Regions from separate parts of the Homo sapiens genome. Here region 1 is linked to region 2. Evidence: promoter capture Hi-C in 16 types of primary human blood cells and fetal thymus (Javierre and others, 2016). All regions are on one chromosome and are shown on one strand. The core of a region is centred on a gene start or on the middle of the fragment in contact, and the rest is flanking DNA. Distances in the headings are between cores, read along the strand shown. Region 1 holds the start of CSGALNACT2 (chondroitin sulfate N-acetylgalactosaminyltransferase 2). Region 2 holds the start of ALOX5 (arachidonate 5-lipoxygenase).

What was found. The method cuts DNA at HindIII sites, captures the fragments that hold promoters and counts their contacts. A CHiCAGO score of 5 or more calls a contact.
Region 1: the fragment with the promoter of CSGALNACT2 here is called in contact with the fragment with the promoter of ALOX5 in region 2 in 1 of 17 cell types (M0 macrophages); the score reaches 5.5 in M0 macrophages.

What each region holds. Positions count from the first base shown.
Region 1 is chr10:43,136,858-43,139,983 of GRCh38, forward strand. It overlaps CSGALNACT2 (chondroitin sulfate N-acetylgalactosaminyltransferase 2), which reads left to right and starts at 1,588. Exons shown (of 8, transcript NM_018590.5): 1 at 1,588-1,710. CSGALNACT2-DT (CSGALNACT2 divergent transcript) reads right to left here and starts at 1,536. Exons shown (of 1, transcript NR_186456.1): 1 at 1-1,536. RefSeq lists silencers at 885-1,084, 1,215-1,274, 1,445-1,944, 2,055-2,124. The HindIII fragment of the contact is 5,511 bases long and covers 1-2,260 here.
Region 2 is chr10:45,372,822-45,375,971 of GRCh38, forward strand. ALOX5 (arachidonate 5-lipoxygenase) reads left to right here and starts at 1,395. Exons shown (of 14, transcript NM_000698.5): 1 at 1,395-1,608. The coding sequence starts at 1,459. RefSeq lists enhancers at 1,163-1,773, 1,774-2,382. The HindIII fragment of the contact is 7,754 bases long and covers 1-3,150 here.

The DNA of each region.
Region 1 (3,126 bases), core at 338-2,837, 2.2 Mb before region 2:
AGTATCAGATTGGAAATTATTGGCAGGAAATGTTTTTAATTACATTTTTCTGATATTAAACCCAACACAGTTGTACTTTAATATTTTCCCTAGGAGAACTACTTATTTTACAACTATATCCCAGTGTATCACCCATGATCAGCCACATAATTTGAATCATGCATTATCTTCTCTCCACATTCAAATTACATACATTTAGTATTTGGCTACTTAAAAAAAAATCATTAAAAAGTAACAATTTAAATCCATTGATGGGAGAACCTCAGTTAGTTTCAAAACAACAATTCTTGCCAGGCGGGGTGACTCACGCCTGTAATGCCAGCACTTTGGGAGGCCGAAGCTGGAAGATCGCTTGAGCCCAGGAGTTCAAGGCCAGCCTAGGCAACAGAGGGAGGCCCCATCTCTACCAAAAAAAATATTAACAATTAGCCGGGCATGGTGGCATGCACCTGTGGTCCCAGCTACTCGGGAGGCTGAGGCGAGAGGATCGCTGGAGTCGGAGGTGGGGAGGCTGCAGTGAACCGTGATCGCTCCACTGCACTCCAGCCTGGGCGACAGAGCGGGACCCTGTCTCAAAAAATAGATGAATAAATAAATAAAAACAATTATAATGGAAGTTTGGATAGGAATTTAAAACATGTGGCAACTAACCCTGACCCTGCGGCTTCAGTCTCCCCGCCGCTAGCTGAGGGCCGTGGCCGCTGCACAGAGGCTTGTGAGGATTCGGGGGTTCAGGCAGCGCCCGCCGCGCATCTGCCAGACGTGCGGCCACAGGGTAGGAGCAGTAAGAAGGATCCAGGGAAAAAAGTCCACGAATGAGAAAGGAAACCCAGCGTTTGTAGGGCTAGGAGAACAAAGAAAGAAAATGCTGGCGGCGGAGGGCGAGGCTCTGCGGTGCGTGGCAGATGGGAATTTGCTCGGTGGCGGCTCCTCTTTCTGGAGAGCTTCCCAGCGTCCCCTCCCCCGCCAGCCCGCGGTGACGCGCCCGGCACCCACCACAGCCGGCTCTCGGCGCCGTCGCGCCTTCGCTCGCCCGCTTAGGCCGTGCTCGCGGTGGCGTGGGAGACAGAGAGCCCAGGGAGGACCCTGGAACATGCAGTGGTATGGAAGACGCCTAAGAAAGGGCTTCTCTTTCCACTCACGAAAATCAGTGTGTGAGCTCGAAGCCATTTCCCAGCGTGTCCGCCTCAACTCCCTCATTCAACAGATGAGGAATTCCTCCAGGGAAATGCAGTGATGCGCTCACGGCTGCCGGCGGCCCAGCGCCAAGGGGCGCTCCACAGCCCCGCGGCCCGAAGCCCTCGACTCGGCTGCCACGCAGGCCCCGCGGCCCCGCTCGGACTCCCAGGATCGGCTTCCGAGCGGGACAGCGCTGCAGTCCACGAGTCCGGGCAGGGGCGCCTCCAGGCCGGAGCGGTTTCCTGCCTCGGGCACTCTGCTGTCTCCACAAACGGTTTTTGGAGGCACACACACGGATACTTTAAACACGTCGGTGATGAATCGGTACCCAGCTGCCAGTGGCGGAGCTTCCTGGGCGGGGCCGCGGGCGCGCGGCGGCTTCATTTCCTCGCGCGCGCCGGAAGTGGCCTCTCAGGCGCGGCGGCGCGCCCGGGGGTGGGTGGCTGAGGCGGCGGCGGGCCCAAGGCGTGAGGCGCCGCCCGGGTGTCCCCGCGGCGCAGGAGGCGGTGGAGCGCAGAGCGGGCGAGCGCGGTGAGTACCTGGCCCGGCCTCGCCCGCCGGTCCGCGACTCCCGCCGGCTCCGGCCCGGGCGGTGCGGGCGCCGGGGCTGCGGGCTCCTGTGTGGTCGGGTGGGGTCGCCTAGCGGACCGGTCCTGCGGGGGGCCCTGTCTCTCAGGGATGAGCCTGCCGGAGTCGGCACCGGTTTTAGGGAAAGCGCGGCCAGAGACGATTGGTTCGCTTGTCAGTGTTGGGTTTTGTTTTGTTTCGTTTTGTTTTTACCTATTCATCACCATCTCTGCTCCTCTCAGTGGATAAACTTTTTAATCAGTGGTGACCTCGTCATCGCGTTAAAATAGTTCTGCCCTCAGCCCCTCTTTATCTGTAGATGGCAGAGCGAGCGCCGGTAAAGATGCTCTGTCGTGGAGGGCTCAGTGGGGCGGAGGAGATGGGGAGCCTCTGGCGTTGTCGGAGAATGCACCTTAAAAATGACTCTACCCTTGAGCAACGCAGGAAGCACGACAGTGATACTTCTGTTTGTGATGATGGTATTGGCGGTATGATAGTTTGATTATACATCTGAAGCTTCTCTTCCTGAGTCCTTGGCTTGTTAAACTTGGAGGTATTTTCTAGCGTGCTTTTGAGATAGATATGGGATGTCGTGACGTTTCACCGTCATTCAAGGCTCGCGGGAGCAGGGCCTTCATGTCTGGTAATTAATGTTGTTTTTTGAATGTTGTATTAAAATAGTAGCTTCGATCTTGGAAGTAAGAAGCCAAGTATTTTAGGACTGAGTGTTAGCGTTCATTTTGTATTATTGTTCTTGTACCATTTGTTTAAAGTTGTCATGTAACTAAAAGAATGAAAAAAGATGGATTTCCAGTATTTGTGGCTCAGAGGATTTTGGCCTAAATAAACACAGTTCCAACCAGTTTAGAAGCTGCATTTTTCTCTTTGTTTTTGTCGAGGCATAAAATACATATGAAATCAATAAGAGCACGAATCTTAATTGTACAGCTCAATGAATTTTTACATACTTATTACCCTGTGGAACCACCAGATATATCAAATTATAACCATAGAACATTTCCATCATCCTATTTTCCTGTGCTTCTTCCAAGTCAGTTATATCCTTGTTTTCCCATCTGTATTCTAACTTCTCTTATCTGCTTTTAGTTTTCTCTGTTTTGAGCTTCATGTTAATGGAATCACGTAGTATTCTCAGCATATTGTTTGTGGGACACACCCATGCTATTTCATGGTATTGTATTATTACTGTGTAATAGTCTATTGAATAATATGTGACTACTCTTCAGTTGATGGACATTTATGTTCCCAATTTTTGTATATGATGTGTTTTGGATATTAAGAATACTGTGGGCCTGGCGTGGTGGCTCAGGCCTTTTATCCCAGCGCTTGGGGAGGCCGAGGCAGGTGGATCACTTGGTC
Region 2 (3,150 bases), core at 145-2,644:
ACCTAGGAGTAAATCTTTAAGATGTTATTGTAGGCAGTGGTTTCTCAGATAGGACCCCAAAATCACAAGCGACAAAAGAAATTGGACTTAAAGTTAAATACTTTTGTGCTTCAAACATCATCAAGAAAGTGAAAACACAACCCGCAGAAGCAATAAAAATGTCTGTAAGTCATGTATCCGATTAGAGACTTCTATCCAGGATATATAAATAATGCAATTCAATGATAAAAAAGATAAATAGCCCAGTTTTCCAAAGAGTCAAGCATCTGAATATACATCTCTCCAAAAATATACAGATATCCAACAAGCATGTGAAAAGATGTTCAAAGCCATTTGCCAGGTGCACAAACCCAAGACAGTATGAGGAGATGCTACAGGGACTCTGCTGCTTCACAGACATGAAGCGTTGGTGAGAATGTAGGCAGCCGCCTTTGGGGACTTCACATCCCCGCCGCCCCACGCACGGTGAGCTAGTGTTTAAACTTAGCCGAGATCAATACACGCGACTGTGTGCCCGTCAGACCCTGCGCTGCCGGCGGGGCTGGGAGAGGCGGGCGCCAGGAGTGGGCGGGAACCTGGGGGTCAGGCCCCAGCCGCGGGAAGCCGCCCAGGAGCGCGCGAAACCTTCTCCACACCCTTCCAGGCATTTGCCCGCCGCGATTCAGAGAGCCGACCCGTGACCCCTGGCCTCCCCTAGACAGCCCCGCATGTCCAGATGTGCCGTCCCGCCTGCCTCCCGCGACCACTGGCCATCTCTGGGCCTGGGCGCGGTCTCGGCGCCCGCCTGCCCCCGCCAGGAGCCGCAGGTCCAGCCAGTGAAGAAGCCCGCGCTGAAGGAGCCTCTGTGCTCCAGAATCCATCCTCAGTATCAGCGCTGGGGTGGCCTCCTCCAGGAAGCCCTTCTGATTCTCTCATGGGTCGCTCTTCCTCTGCAGACTCCCGGAGCACCCCTGCTCCAAGTACCGCAAGTGGCACTGAGAACTTGGGGAGAGCAGAGGCTGTGCCTAGATTTGTAGGGAGTCCCCGCAGCTCCACCCCAGGGCCTACAGGAGCCTGGCCTTGGGCGAAGCCGAGGCAGGCAGGCAGGGCAAAGGGTGGAAGCAATTCAGGAGAGAACGAGTGAACGAATGGATGAGGGGTGGCAGCCGAGGTTGCCCCAGTCCCCTGGCTGCAGGAACAGACACCTCGCTGAGGAGAGACCCAGGAGCGAGGCCCCTGCCCCGCCCGAGGCGAGGTCCCGCCCAGTCGGCGCCGCGTGAAGAGTGGGAGAGAAGTACTGCGGGGGCGGGGGCGGGGGCGGGGGCGGGGGCGGGGGCAGCCGGGAGCCTGGAGCCAGACCGGGGCGGGGCCGGGACCGGGGCCAGGGACCAGTGGTGGGAGGAGGCTGCGGCGCTAGATGCGGACACCTGGACCGCCGCGCCGAGGCTCCCGGCGCTCGCTGCTCCCGCGGCCCGCGCCATGCCCTCCTACACGGTCACCGTGGCCACTGGCAGCCAGTGGTTCGCCGGCACTGACGACTACATCTACCTCAGCCTCGTGGGCTCGGCGGGCTGCAGCGAGAAGCACCTGCTGGACAAGCCCTTCTACAACGACTTCGAGCGTGGCGCGGTGAGCGCGGGCGGGGCACGGGTGGAGCGCGGGCTGAGGTGCGTCCGGGACCCGGTTTGGACGGCAGAGGCCTGGGCGGGGGCGCCGAGGGCCCGTCGGGGCGGCCCGGACAGGACTGGGGGTGTCCAGGACCCTGTCAGGGAGGGCAGAACTGCGGTGGGGCGTGCCCTGGGCTCCCAGTGGCCGGTGGGTACCCTGGTGGGCAAGCGTCCAGGACCCCTCGCGGCGGCCGCGACCCCTGTCGGAAACGGAGACTTCCCGCGTGCCGCCTGCAAGGCGTCTTCCCTGGGAGGAGAAGGCCCAAGGTTTCCCCTCCACTTCAAGATCTGGGCTCCGAGGCTCCGGAGCCCCCTTCACTGGGCCGCGTTTCTTGTGCCACCTCTTCCTTAGGCTCCTTCTGCAGGTCGCACAGGGAGGGAGAGGCAGATGAGTCATGCTCACAGAACTCTGAGGGCACCTCGGAGCAGCCAGCTGTGAGCCGTGGGGAAGGGTGCACGTCAGCGGGTCCAGAGGCCTGAGTTCTGTCCAGACATGACCACCAGCTCACTCTACCGTCTGTCTGGGCCTCAGTTTCCCCAGCTGAAAATGGAGGGTTGGCTTCAGTCTGGTCCATGAGTCATGGGTGAGCCCAGGCCCATCTGGTGGCTCAGACGGCACCTGGGCAGCTTACATTCTCAGGACAGTCCCCAGAGGAAATTAAAGGGAAGGAACAGAACCCAGGCCAGGAGAGGCTTTTCCTAAATGGAGGGGCTGCACTCCCTCCCAGCAGAATGTACACCAGGGAACACTTCCACGCTAGGTGTGAGGACGCGAGGGAGCCCTCAGCATTTGGAAGCTAGTTCCTAATGCTGATCTGGACCTGAATTCCAGCCCCACGACTCTTTTCCATGAGCATGGGCAGGTCGCAGTTCTCACTGAGCCTTTAATGAAGTGCCTAATCCAGTACCTGGCACAGAGGAAGCGCTCCGTAAATGACTGGTAATAGTCCCAGACATACTGCAGGTGCGCAGGGAATATCAGTTCCCTTCCACCCCACCCCAGCTCCTAACTGGACCAAAAAGATTTAGACTTTACCAAGCTGCCTTCTCACCATTTAGTTTATTATTTGATCAAACCTTGTGAAATTGCTCATAATGGACAAATACAACCGGCAAGTTCATGTTTCAACTGATTACTCTTGGATAAAATTTGTGTTTTAGGTGTGCAGAGCCTAAAGTAAGTAAAAACTACTCTTTTTCTGGATTCCAAGCTCTCCATGGGCTCGATTCCTATCCAGGAGCCCATACCCTCGCTGTAGCACGACATGGCCCTCAGCCAAGTTCACTAGCATCCTGGCTTGAGCTCCCTTCAAGAAGAGTTAGGTGTTGAGTACAAGAGCAACCTTCAGTTGCTTAGTTGCCCCAGTCGGGGAACTGACCCTGAGGACTGCGGTGCCCTGGAGTTAATGTGTCGTCCATTTAGGGTGATGGCACCCTCTGCCATTTCTGACGCACCTTCATTTACTTCCATTATTTCATGGATTCCCCACACCTGGGGGAGAAG